2 separate regions of the Homo sapiens genome follow, and region 2 is linked to region 1. Evidence: promoter capture Hi-C in human tissues and cell types (Jung and others, 2019). All regions are on one chromosome and are shown on one strand. The core of a region is centred on a gene start or on the middle of the fragment in contact, and the rest is flanking DNA. Distances in the headings are between cores, read along the strand shown. Region 1 holds the start of CABS1 (calcium binding protein, spermatid associated 1). Region 2 has its middle 42 kb from the start of CABS1.

Region 1 (7,424 bases), core at 2,706-5,205:
ATAGGGAACACTCAAAATACTTGTAATATTTTAATTGGGTATGGGAAGCAAGTAAGAGTGAAAGATTTAGCTTGGCTTCCAGGTTTTCTAGTTAATGGGGTTGACAAACATTCATCCTCTCCTGTGTACAGTTTATGTTCTGGATGATTGGAGAGCATTTAAAAACGCACGAAAGCACAGAGAATGAAACAAAATCACCTGCAGTCCTTCCTAGAGATTATATATTGTGATATATGTAATCCAGACATTCTGCTTGCGTGTGTATGTGTGTGCATGTGTATATTGCATACATACCACTGTGTAAATTTGCTTAGAGTTGTATGAAAATATCATCCATTTGATTAAATATTCTTCCTTAGAACCATTTTAAAAGATGCAAGCTATGGCTTCATATGGGTATACAGAAGTGTAATTAATTACATGTGACTACAATTGTAGATTGTTTTCAGTGTTTTTCCCTTATGAACATGTAAAATCACATTCTTCAGTGTAAGAGTTTGCCAACATTCTTGTATTTAAATCTGAGGGCCCCTACAGTATAGTGATTAAAAGAGCATGGGTTCTGGATGAAGACTGCCTGGGTTAGAAGCGTTCTTTGCTACATATTAACTTTGAAGCTTGGTGCATGTTGAGTAGCTTTTCTGTTTCCTTATCACTAAAATGAGAATAGTAATGTTTCTCCTTCTAGGGTATCATGAGGATCAAATGTTATTCTAAATATAAACACAACTATGCTGACCAGTAGTCAGAGCTCAATAACTGCTGGAACTTTAATAGTTTCTGATTCTTAGGAAAATTCTCAGGGCTAAAATATGTAAAATATGTAAAATAACTGGGCCAAAACTTCCAATTTTTAAAATGCTTGCTACATGTATTGCCAAATTGGCTTCCAGCCTTCCAGAAAGGCTGGAGAAATTTGGAGAAAGTTTGGAAAATGAGTCAACAATGAATATGTACAATAATCACTGTCAATCCTCAAATGGCTAAAACTGATGTGTACTAGCTTTATTTTAATTTTTTGAATATGTCTATTGAATATTTTTCACATGTTCATTAACAATTTGTGTTTCATGAATTATGTTAATTTCTACTGTTCATTTAAAATACTTTGTAGAAACTTTTATAGAAAAATGATAGTAATCTTTTCACTGCTATGTAAAATAAAATTAGTTATTTACTTTTTAATTTTATGTTAATTTTCTTTGTTTCAGAATTTTAACTATTCATGGTGTCAAACCTATCAATCTTCTTATCACCTTTTCATATATGCTTACATTTCTCAGGTCCATTTGGATAGATATACAGGTACATTTCCTCCTAAGTTTTTGTATGGTTTTAGTTTTTACATTAAAGTATTTAATCCATGTAGAATTTATTTTAAAGTATGGTCTTAAAAAGAATTTAAAAATTTGTTTATTATTCCAACATATTTTTTTCCCAAATACTGATTGTTCAAGTAAGATTAACTATTATATCCCATGTTTTTGAAGTCCACTTCACTGTATAACAAATTTTTGTTTCGTAATTTGTTTCTGGGTTTTAACACACTGTTGTGATTATTCTAGTCTATAGTTTATCTAATGGTGCAAATCCCTATACAAACCCCCCGTACATAATATCTTTCATTCACTTGGTGTTTTGGCATTGTTCTTATTTCTTTTTTTAGTGTAATACAATTATGAATCTCTATAGAATAATTTTACTTCTGGGGATTAGAGCTATATTATTCTTTAAACAAACAATGAATTTTCATTTCTCTTTATTTCTCCTAATTTGAGAAGTCTGTAGTAGAATATCAAACACACCTACACACAGTAAATCAGTTGCTTGCCAAAAAGATTTATTGAAGAAAAATGAGCAAAGTGAAAACAGACCCATTTAAGTAGTCTGTGCCAGAAAAGAATGAAGATTTATGTCCTTGAATCGCTAACAAGAGTCATAAGAAGAGTGTGATATTCAGTGTTTAAGACCTGGAAAACATGGACAAAAATTCAGAAAACACATTTTAACAGAAAGAAAATTAAATTGATGTATATGTTTACAGAACATTTTTCTGACAAATATGCATATTTGTAAAATATCATTTTGCTTTAGTTTGTATCTAACATGTGCCAAGAACCCTATCATAAATCTTATGTATCTTACATGTGGGTGCTAAACAATTACTGAATTGTCTTAATTCTTATATGAGGATTAAAAATTTTTTAAATAGAAGAGAATCACTGATGAAATACTAATGAAAAAATTGCTTAGAACAAGCATTTTGGGAGAACTTTTTAGGCTATGGTAATGTTTTGGAGAGGTTAATTTGCTTCTCTTCATATCCTTAATTCTCACTTAAGTATAATATTGACTGTTAACTAAATGATATGCATCATTAAATGTTGTAGAAATGAGCCCCTACATTGCTCTGTCTTCATACTCCCTGAAGGCTAGGACGAAAAATTTTACATTAAGTAATTGTTAGAATATTGAAACTTTGTGATACTAGGGGGACCCTTACACTGCGGTTTTTTTTTCTAAGTTTCCGTAAATCTGTTACATGACCTGTAGTCCTAAGCATCTGCATTTATTGAGTCGAATACTTGCCTTAAATGCCCACATTCTTTCATTTCTAAAGGTTTTTGCTTGTTGGAAAAATTTCTTAGATGTTAAGGCTAGCTGGCTAGACTATTGCACAATTCTACATGGTATCCCTTTTGTTGCTTTTAAATCATGAACTCATCGGGTTCTTCTTTCAGTAGTTCAAAGATATCCGTTTCAGTTGTGGAGGTGTCTTCCTTATAGTCTGGGGTATCTAATACAGAGGTAGTTCCAGAAAATGGCTCAGTGATCTTAGGTACAGTCTCTGTATTATCAGTTTCAGACAAATCTTCTTCTGTAGATGATTCTTCCACTAGGTTTGTAGCTATTGATGCAGGGACAACGAAGTCATATCTGGATTCAACAGCAGTAAGCAAAACAGAATGGGTCTCTGCTTCATTTGCAGTATCTCTCTCCATCCAAATACTGGCTCCCTCGGTAGTTTCTTCATCAGTTAGCAGAGTATCTTCCCGTTTATCTTTGTCTTTTTCAGCAGAGGTAGTGAGTTCAAACACAGTGATAAACTTCTCATCAGAGTCAGTTAATGTAGCCACAGCACTGGTGTCATCTTCTAAAACACTTAGGTCAATTTCGGTTATTTTCTCTTCTTCAAGGGCAGTTATGTCTGGAATAGTAGTGAAGCTTTCTTCAGGAGCAGGAGGGATTTCAGCCTCAGGAATAGTGGAATCAGTGACCTGGACAGCCTCATCAGCAGGGACATTGGATTTGATGGAGGAATTATAATTGCTCATATCAGCTTCATCCTTTTTACGTGGAAAGGCAGGAGCGTCAGCAACACCAGCACTGCTGTCCTTTAGTGTGCCAGAGACTTCAGAGGTTATTGAGATCTCTGCATCTCCTGTGTCAATGGTAGCTAAGAGGATATCTTCTTTTGCTATGTCAGTGGAAAAATCTATTAAAGAAACAGTAGTAACTGGTGATGAAATATTCCCAATTTTCACTGGCATGAAATGTTCGGTAATAGAGTCTCTTGTTATGGAGTTTGTAGTGCCAGTCAGAGAGGTAATTTCTTTCTGTAGGTGAGTTGTTGACTTAATAAAGTCGGTCCCCATATCATCTTCTGATTTGAGTTTTTCCTTTTTAGCTGTCAGTTTGTTGTCTGTAGTTGTTGAAAAATCGCTTTCTAGCATATATTCATTTACTGAAGTGACGTGGTCTCCTTCTGAAGTAATAGTTGTTTCTGATTTGGGAATAGCATTGTCAGCCCCAAAGAAAATGGTTGCTGCAGTTGGTGTTTTACTGCTTTCTGTTGGAGGATGAGAATAAATTTTGGGCAAACCATCTTCAGCCATGGGGCGAAGTGGCACTGTGCACTCTCACAGGTCTTGCTTCTGGACTCAGTGGTATCTCTAGGCAGGAGAGCAGTGTTCATCAGAGTGATTAAAGCTTGGGTCATCATGGTGATTGTTGCATCAACTATGGGAGCAATGTCACTGGGTCTCCTTGGAGGTTGTTTCTAGGCTGCGATTGGTTATCTAATTGCAGGAATATTGAATGAAAAGACTATAGAGTCCGCTCTGATTATGAAATCAAATTCACAGCCAAGCATTTCAATTGCAGGGAACTTAAGATTTACCATGTTTCTGTTTATAAGGAAAATGTCTCCTGATATAGAGCTAGGGTTACTTGAAACAGACATAGCAGAGACTGCCAGGCACCTTTTGGGTTTAGAATTAGTAAGGAAAACTTTGGAAGCCACAAGTTTATCAGCATCAGCTTAAAGTCGTCTATCTTCCAAGCAAGTAACAGAGTATTTTTGAGGTGAAGCCATTTTCCCTTAAGATTCATAGTATTAAAAAAAATTGGTATCTAAAAAAATTAATGGTGTTTTTGTCAGTAAGTATAGCTACAGAAGGTAATTAGGTAGCAGGGAATTCAGTTAGTTCCCTTATTCATAACAGGAAGTCCCACTTTTTCAGTAGAGATAATAACTAATAGTTATTGGCCTGTTTGGGTCTTTTTTTTTTTTTTTTCTTTTTTTGTTTTTTGTTTTTTTTTTTTTCATTTATTTTTATTTTATTTTATTTTATTTTTTTTATTATACTCTAAGTTTTAGGGTACATGTGCACATTGTGCAGGTTAGTTACATATGTATACATGTGCCATGCTGGTGCGCTGCACCCACTAATGTGTCATCTAGCATTAGGTATATCTCCCAATACTATCCCTCCCCCCTCCCCCAACCCCACCACAGTCCCCAGAGTGTGATATTCCCCTTCCTGTGTCCATGTGATCTCATTGTTCAATTCCCATCTATGAGTGAGAATATGCGGTGTTTGGTTTTTTGTTCTTGCGATAGTTTACTGAGAATGATGGTTTCCAATTTCATCCATGTCCCTACAAAGGATATGAACTCATCATTTTTTATGGCTGCATAGTATTCCATGGTGTATATGTGCCACATTTTCTTAATCCAGTCTATCATTGTTGGACATTTGGGTTGGTTCCAAGTCTTTGCTATTGTGAATAGTGCCGCAATAAACATACGTGTGCATGTGTCTTTATAGCAGCATGATTTATACTCATTTGGGTATATACCCAGTAATGGGATGGCTGGGTCAAATGGTATTTCTAGTTCTAGATCCCTGAGGAATCGCCACACTGACTTCCACAATGGTTGAACTAGTTTACAGTCCCACCAACAGTGTAAAAGTGTTCCTATTTCTCCACATCCTCTCCAGCACCTGTTGTTTCCTGACTTTTTAATGATTGCCATTCTAACTGGTGTGAGATGATATCTCATAGTGGTTTTGATTTGCATTTCTCTGATGGCCAGTGATGATGAGCATTTCTTCATGTGTTTTTTGGCTGCATAAATGTCTTCTTTTGAGAAGTGTCTGTTCATGTCCTTCGCCCACTTTTTGATGGGGTTGTTTGTTTTTTTCTTGTAAATTTGTTTGAGTTCATTGTAGATTCTGGATATTAGCCCTTTGTCAGATGAGTAGGATGCGAAAATTTTCTCCCATGTTGTAGGTTGCCTGTTCACTCTGATGGTAGTTTCTTTTGCTGTGCAGAAGCTCTTTAGTTTAATTAGATCTCATTTGTCAATTTTGTCTTTTGTTGCCATTGCTTTTGGTGTTTTGGACATGAAGTCCTTGCCCACGCCTATGTCCTGAATGGTAATGCCTAGGTTTTCTTCTAGGGTTTTTATGGTTTTAGGTTTAACGTTTAAATCTTTAATCCATCTTGAATTGATTTTTGTATAAGGTGTAAGGAAGGGATCCAGTTTCAGCTTTCTACATATGGCTAGCCAGTTTTCCCAGCACCATTTATTAAATAGGGAATCCTTTCCCCATTGCTTGTTTTTCTCAGGTTTGTCAAAGATCAGATAGTTGTAGATATGCGGCATTATTTCTGAGGGCTCTGTTGTGTTCCATTGATCTATATCTCTGTTTTGGTACCAGTACCATGCTGTTTTGGTTACTGTAGCCTTGTAGTATAGTTTGAAGTCAGGTAGTGTGATGCCTCCAGCTTTGTTCTTTTGGCTTAGGATTGACTTGGCAATGCGGGCTCTTTTTTGGTTCCATATGAACTTTAAAGTAGTTTTTTCCAATTCTGTGAAGAAAGTCATTGGTAGCTTGATGGGGATGGCATTGAATCTATAAATTACCTTGGGCAGTATGGCCATTTTCACGATATTGATTCTTCCTACCCATGAGCATGGAATGTTCTTCCATTTGTTTGTGTCCTCTTTTATTTCCTTGAGCAGTGGTTTGTAGTTCTCCTTGAAGAGGTCCTTCACATCCCTTGTAAGTTGGATTCCTAGGTATTTTATTCTCTTTGAAGCAATTGTGAATGGGAGTTCACCCATGATTTGGCTCTCTGTTTGTCTGTTGTTGGTGTATAAGAATGCTTGTGATTTTTGTACATTGATTTTGTATCCTGAGACTTTGCTGAAGTTGCTTATCAGCTTAAGGAGATTTTGGGCTGAGACGATGGGGTTTTCTACATAAACAATCATGTCGTCTGCAAACAGGGACAATTTGACTTCCTCTTTTCCTAATTGAATACCCTTTATTTCCTTCTCCTGCCTGATTGCCCTGGCCAGAACTTCCAACACTATGTTGAATAGGAGCGGTGAGAGAGGGCATCCCTGTCTTGTGCCAGTTTTCAAAGGGAATGCTTCCAGTTTTTGCCCATTCAGTATGATATTGGCTGTGGGTTTGTCATAGATAGCTCTTATTATTTTGAAATACGTCCCATCAATACCTAATTTATTGAGAGTTTTTAGCATGAAGGGTTGTTGAATTTTGTCAAAGGCCTTTTCTGCATCTATTGAGATAATCATGTGGTTTTTGTCTTTGGCTCTGTTTATATGCTGGATTACATTTATTGATTTGCGTATATTGAACCAGCCTTGCATCCCAGGGATGAAGCCCACTTGATCATGGTGGATAAGCTTTTTGATGTGCTGCTGGATTCGGTTTGCCAGTATTTTATTGAGGATTTTTGCATCAATGTTCATCAAGGATATTGGTCTAAAATTCTCTTTTTTGGTTGTGTCTCTGCCTGGCTTTGGTATCAGAATGATGCTGGCCTCATAAAATGAGTTAGGGAGGATTCCCTCTTTTTCTATTGATTGGAATAGTTTCAGAAGGAATGGTACCAGTTCCTCCTTGTACCTCTGGTAGAATTCGGCTGTGAATCCATCTGGTCCTGGACTCTTTTTGGTTGGTAAACTATTGATTATTGCCACAATTTCAGATCCTGTTATTGGTCTATTCAGAGATTCAACTTCTTCCTGGTTTAGTCTTGGGAGAGTGTATGTGTCGAGGAATGTATCCATTTCTTCTAGATTTTCTAGTTTATTTGCGTAGAGG
Region 2 (7,007 bases), core at 2,732-5,231, 42 kb after region 1:
TAGCTGGTCTGTTCTTTAGATTAGGAGGAGTTTTGGTTTTGAATGTATTTTAATTTAGAATAAATTGCAATATAAACTTAAAATAGAACAAGATGGTGAAATAGGAAGTCTCAGACTTTACTCCCCCAACAGAAAGTTCAACTAGCAATTATCCACAGACTATAACTTCTTTATAAGAACCCCAATACTTGGAAACAGGCCTGGGAAACCTGCATAATCCATAGAAATGGATGAAAATAAATTAAACTAAATTAGAAGGGTAAGAAGGATGGTCTCACGTGAAGTGTGTTGCCCTTCCCCCTCCCTCAAGTTAGAACAATGCCACACAGACAGGACTTCCCTGGGCCCAGGGTTTCTACAGGGGAAAAAGAAATGGGAAACACTGGGGTAATGGCTTGGCTAGACCTCCTAGAGTCAGGTAGAAAAAAGTAAAGGAAGCAGGGCTCACAGAGACCAACATGAAGATCTTGGTGACACCTCTGTTTTGCTACCAATTGTGGTACCCTATCAGAGATATCAGCTAACTACATAGCCCACCTGCAAAGCTGAGCTGTTTACTTTAAGAGGCATGGTGGGAAGTTCAACTGGCATGAATCCCTAAACAGCTAGTCTGCATGCCTAGCCTTGCCCAGGCAGGGAGACAACTGCCTCTGTATGTTTCAGAGAAGTATGCAGATAGTTTAAAGAGTTTTAAGAGTGGATCAGCTTAGCCAAATAGTCTGTCCATCAACCTCCATGCATTTCAGAGAAGCATAGGGGCTAGGTTTGCTTGAATTGGGAGGCCAAGTAGCAGCTCTACTAAGTCAAATGCCCACCCTGTGACCTTGCCTTAGTAGGGAGATGCCTACCTCTGTGCCTATTGGAGAAGCATGGGGCTAAATTCTCTCATTCTTTAAGGTCAAATACCAGCTTGATTCAGCCAAAAGCCCACCCCATGTCTCTGCCCAGGCAGAGAGCTGCCCACCTCTGCACATTTTGGAGTGTAGGAATTACTAGGCTTGCTTGAGCTGGAAAGCCAAAGAGCAGCTCAACCCTGTCACAAAACTCACTCTACAGCTCTGCTGAAGCAGGGAAATGTCTGCTTCCATGCACTTCCATGCCAATTGTAGGGGCTAGAACTGATTGACCCACAAGGCCAAAGAGAGGCTCAGCTCAGCCACAAAGCCCACCTCCTTGTGCCAACAAGGCAGGGAAGCAATAGTCAATCATGCATTTCTTTTCTTTCTTTCTTTTCTTTTCTTTTTTGTTTTTGGAGTCTTGCTCTGTCACCCAGGCTAGAGTGCAGTGGTGCAATCTCGGCTTACTGCAACCTCCGCCTCCTGGGTTCAAGTGATTCTTCTGCCTCAGCCTCCTGAGTAGCTGGTATTACAGGTGCCTGCCACCACACCCAGCTAATTTTTGTGTTTTTAGTAGAGATGGGTTTCACCATGTTGGCCAGGCTGGTCTCAAACTCCTGACGTCAGGTGATCTGCCCACTTCGGCCTCTCAAATTGCTGGGATTACAGGCTCAATCATGCATTTCTATGGAGAATAGCCTCTGGTCCCACATGTTCAAAGCTCTTTGCCTAACCTTGGACCCCAGCCTGTATATCTGTCCAACTACAGGTCTTAACTAGCAAATCACCCAACCAGGGAATACATCCTGTTTTCAGTTTGACCAAATGCCATCACAGTACCTAGCCATCAGCTTTGCCTGGTCTTCTGAGTGAGTGGGGGCACAGCCAGCAGCCCAACCTAACATCAGAACAAAGACAGCAGTTCAGCCAAATAGATAATTCACAACAAACTTCCTTCTTGGCATTGTCACCATCTGACCCTTCAGAGTCACAGGTTAAACTAAATAGTAAAAGTCTATCCCTGCCAAGGAACACTCATAAAAGCCAGAAGAGGTGGCTGTCTCCTCATTTGCATACACAATAATGCAAGGACACAAGAATTATGAAAATTCAGGAATTATAGTAAGTCCCCCCGCCAAAAAAATTAATAAAACTCCAATAATGGACCCTAAAGAAAGAGATCTATTAAATAACTGATGATGAATTTGCCATACTCCTCTTAAAGAAGCTCAATGAACTGCGAGAATATATCATAGAAAATTAAAAAAAATTGAAAAACATACACAAAGTGAGAAGTTTGACAAAATTATAAGCAACAAAAAGGCCAAATAGAAATCCTATAGATGGAGACTAAATGGAAAAATTCAATAGGAAGCTTCAATAGAAGACTCAATCAAGCAGAAGAAAGAATCAGTGAACTTAAAGATAGAATATTTGAAATTATCCAATCAAAGGACCAAAAAGTCAAAAGAATAAAAAAGAATGAAGAAAGTCTATGGGAATTATGGGACACCATAAGAAGACCCAAACTTGGCATAATAGGATGGAGAATAAAGAAAAAAAAAGGGCCAGAAAGCAGATTTAAAGAAACAGTGACTGAAAACTTCCTTAATCTGGGGATAGATGCCAACATCCATGTAAAAGAAGCATAGAAGTCACCAATTAAATTTAGCACAAAAAAGAGTTCACCAAGACACTAGTAATCAAACTGTCAAAGACAATAAAAAAATTCTAATGGCAGCAAGAAATAAAAAACATATCATGTATAAAGGAGTCACAATACAACTACTAGCGGATTTATTGGCAGAAATCCTTTAAGCCAGGAGAGAGTGTAATGATATTTTCAAAGTGCTGGAGGAAAAAAGCAAAACTGCCAATTAAGAATAATTTACCCAGAAAAGCTGTCTTTCAGAAATGAAGAAGAAATAAAAACTTGCTCAGACAAACAATAGCTAAGGGAGTTCATCACCTCCAGGTCAGCCTAACAGAAACTGTTAAAGGGAGTTCTTTAAGCTGAAACAAAAGGCCACTAGTTAATAACATAAAACATATGAGAACACAAAACTCAATGGTATAAATAATGTAGAGCCACATTAAAAATACCATGAGACTGTAATGGTAGTCCATAAAACAATTATTTCACCAGTGTGAGTGTTAAAAGACAAAATTATTAATAACAACTATAGCTAAAATAAATTGTCAAGGGATATACATTATAAAATGATACAAATTCTAACCTTAATACCCCACTTTCAACAACGGACAGATTGTCTAGGTCAAATAAATAAAAAATTATTGGACTTGAACAACACTTCAGACCAAATCAACCTAACAGGCATATACAGAACATTTCATCCAACAGCAACAGTACACAATTCTTCTCAAGCATGCATAGAGCATTCTCCAGGATAGATCATATGCCATAAAACAAGTCTTAGAAAATTTAAGAAGATTGAAATTATATAAAGTATCTTTCCCAGCCACAATGGTATGAAACTAAATGAGAAATCAATAACAGGAGGAATTTTGGAAAATTCACAAATACATGAAAATTAAACATCATGCTATGGGACAACCAATGAAATAATCAAGAAATTAAAAAAAATCTTGAGACAAACAAAAATAAAAACACAACATACCAAAACGTATGGGTTGTAGAAAAAGTTTTAAGAGGAACATTTATAGCAATAAATGCCTATATCAATAAAAAAGAGGACTTCAAGTAAAAAACTTAACTCCTCAAGGAACTAGAAAAAGAAAAAACTAAGCCCAAAATTAGAATAAGAAAAAAATAATAAAGATCAGAGCAGAAATAAATGAAATAGAGAATCCAAAAGATCTCTATTGCAAAGGATCAATGAAACTGAGTTGGTTTTTTAATAAGATAAAATAGACAAAACTTTATCTAGATTAACTTAGAAAAGAAAGAAGACTCATATACATAAAATTAGAAATAAAAGATGAGACATTACAATGAATACCATAGAAATAAAAAGATCATAAGAGATTACTATGAACAAATTATGCCAAAAGATTGAATAACCTAGTAGAAATCAATAAATTCCTAGACATACAATCTACCAAGAATAAATGGTGAGAGAATGAATTTAACCAAACTGCTAGGTGATACCAAATACAAATTTCACTGGTATTTTAAGAATAAAGAAAAAATATTTTTCTGAAGTTAAACTTAAAATGTGGATACGAAATTAAAACTTAACAGATACATTTTTTGAAAATATCATCATTCTTTGCAATTACTAAAAAATTAGGTTTTCCCATTCAGTTTGCTAATGAGATTAATATTTTTATTTAAATTCTTACCCGAAGAAAGCATTTCATCTTTGATTAGGAATTGTACATAACTAAGAAGTTCTTCACCCACCCAGTACCCACTCAGTGCCACACACATCCCACTTGCCATCCCCTCCCAACTCCCATCATTTAGGATAATCCCAGTGGTTGTGGGATAGAGAGTTCTAGGAAGGTACATAGTGTGCTATTAAATTCAGGGGTCAGCTTTATAGAACTCAACTCCTATATGTATGATGTATGACATGGTGTACTATGTATTATTATGTTCCAAGAACAGGTTCCATGAGATTCTAAGATTCTGTGATATTATTTGAGTTTTCCTTTCTTCTTCTATCTAGTTTATAATTTTTAGTCTATAGGATGCTATGCATGTTCTTCTGAAAATATTTTATAAAACCTTATTTTATTTTATTTTTTTTTTGGGAGATGGAGTCTCACTCTCTCACCCAGGCTGCAGTGCAGTGGCATGATCTCGGCTCACTGCAACCTCCGCCTCCCGGGTTCAAGCGATTCTCATGCCTCAGCCTCCTCAATAGCTGCAGTTACAGACAGCCGCTACCACACCTGGCTAATTTTTGTATTTTTAGATAGGGTTCCGCCATGTTGGCCAGACTCTTCTCCAATTCCTGATCTCCAGTGATCAGCCTACCTCCGCCTCCCAAAGTGCTGGGATTACAGGTGTGAGCCACCGTGCCTGGCCCATACTTTTCTTATTGATAAGTCATCATTGTTAGACGACCTACAAATTGCAATAAATATATTGAATAATCAAACCTATTTCTGACCTGTGCTAGTCTAATTCTGAGGAACACAACGTTGATTTCCTAATATGACAGTAGTATTGGTGGAAAATGGACACTGTTTCCATGGTGCCAGATTATTAAGACAAGTACACAGAACAAACGGCTTCTGGCACCAGAATTTTGTGAAAGAAAAAGGGAAAGTAAAAGTGGTCTGTAGTTAACTTAGGGAAACTCAATATAAATAAGTTTCACAAAATCTCTGAGAGCATGTAGCTTGTGACAGTGATGGTAGGGTCATCAGTTTCACTGGCCTTGGTGCCAACAGATCCATTTTAGAACCATAATCAGAAAACTTTGAAACCACTTGGTGTTTTTCTCTGAGTCTGAACTGAATCAGTTTACATCATGATATTTCCCCACAAAATAGAATGTCTTCCTGTGTTCCCCCTTTCAGTAGATGGTATGCTATTTACCTAGTAGTATAATCTGGAATCCTGAGTCAGTCTTGACTTTTCTTCTTATCCTCCCATGTCCATCAGTCACTAGAGCCTCTCTACATTTTACTTCCTAGATAGTGTTTTGAATCAGTTCACCTCTGATCATCTTCATTAGCAGCATCCTATCCAAGTTAACATATCTCATCTTTTACTTGGAAAGAGCAATAGTTAAATCTGATAATTAAGAAACTTCATAAATTAACACTATGGCTTCTATGTTTATTACTCATCTTAAGAAAACAATGGTTCAATTTCTTATTTACAGTTATAGAATGACATATATATTGTGAAATGTCTCAGAATTTTTGGAAATTGTTCAAGTACATTTTTATAGTTTTCCTCAATATTCTAAAGTTTAATAGATTGAAGAATAAACCAATATTTGCAATAACTTAATAAGAGGATATCAATAATGTTTTCTCCATCAGGTTAAACATATTTAAGCACTTAAGCCCAATGTTCCTATGTTAGGGGAATTTGTGAAATGTGTCTACCCAACTGCACCCCCATTCCAACTCCTCACAACCCAGTGGACTTAGAATCTCCCAAATTTTGGAGACCGTGCATTACATTATCTACTAATCTACTTTCTGAATACTTTTTCAATTGCTGTGGCCATGCATCTGAGAAATGCAGGTAATTTTCACTGGGCATAATAGTTTTTCTAATTCCATAGTGATTTATTTATTATTTTCACATATTCATCTATGTTATACTACACAGCAGAACAATGGTACGTGTGCTGGTTCTGAACAACTATAGCTGTGAGAAATCACCAGTGTACTTAAGAACAAGAAAAGCAAAAACTTTTGCAAGGCATTCCTAGAATAACAAAAAGGAGCACTGAACTTGAGTTCAAAATGCCCAGGTTTGACTCTCAGCTCTGTCATTTTATTACTATGTGAGCTTGGTTAACTTATATATAAATGCTATGTTTCTCATCTATAAAAAGAGAATAATTAATTTACTATTTACTGGAATAAGTTGATGTCAAATTCAATTAGAATACTCACAGAAATGCTTTGCAAACTCTGTAGCACTACATAAAAATATTAAGCTTTAACTTGTGCGTTGAATTTTCCCAATAATTTTTTATTTATAGATATATTTAATGTAATTTTTTAACTCATAATTCCTGAATTTGGAATGACAACTTTTATTTATTCATTCAATAGATATTTACTGAGTATTCATTTTTTTTTAGCAGGCATTGTGGATTCAATAGGAAACAAGACAGGCCCAGTTCCTGCCGTGAGGGTATAATGATTTATTGGAAAGAGGTATAACCAACAAAAAAGAGTGGCTGTGATCGATTGAACTCTGATTAACAGAGCAAGTATGCTTCCACTCAGCCATTTCTTTTGGACAAACTTTCTTCATTCACCGTTTTTTCCAAGAACTTCACAAAGATCAGAAGTCAGAGCTTGGCTGCACTTAAATCACTGAGTGCCTGCGTGATAATCGATATTATAATAAGTGCTGTGCAACAACAATATGCAATGTTGTTTTTTCTGAGAATTGAGGTAATCACTTTAAAGTTAACAAAATTATGTATACGTCTACTGTCATACTGTTTTGATTCATAATAAAATTTGCCTCCTTTCTCTTTTACACTA

The links. The method cuts DNA at HindIII sites, captures the fragments that hold promoters and counts their contacts. A contact is called where the count stands out against the background at its distance.
Region 2: a fragment that was not itself captured here is called in contact with the fragment with the promoter of CABS1 in region 1 in 2 of the 25 tissues and cell types used here (small bowel and thymus).

The regions. Positions count from the first base shown.
Region 1 is chr4:70,331,512-70,338,935 of GRCh38, reverse strand. CABS1 (calcium binding protein, spermatid associated 1) reads right to left here and starts at 3,955. Exons shown (of 2, transcript NM_033122.4): 1 at 2,590-3,955; 2 at 1,820-1,970. The coding sequence starts at 3,896. The coding sequence ends at 2,709. The HindIII fragment of the contact is 3,576 bases long and covers 1,922-5,497 here.
Region 2 is chr4:70,289,680-70,296,686 of GRCh38, reverse strand. No RefSeq gene overlaps it. Among named protein-coding and RNA genes, the nearest start is that of CABS1, 42 kb to the left of the region's middle. The HindIII fragment of the contact is 6,538 bases long and covers 713-7,007 here.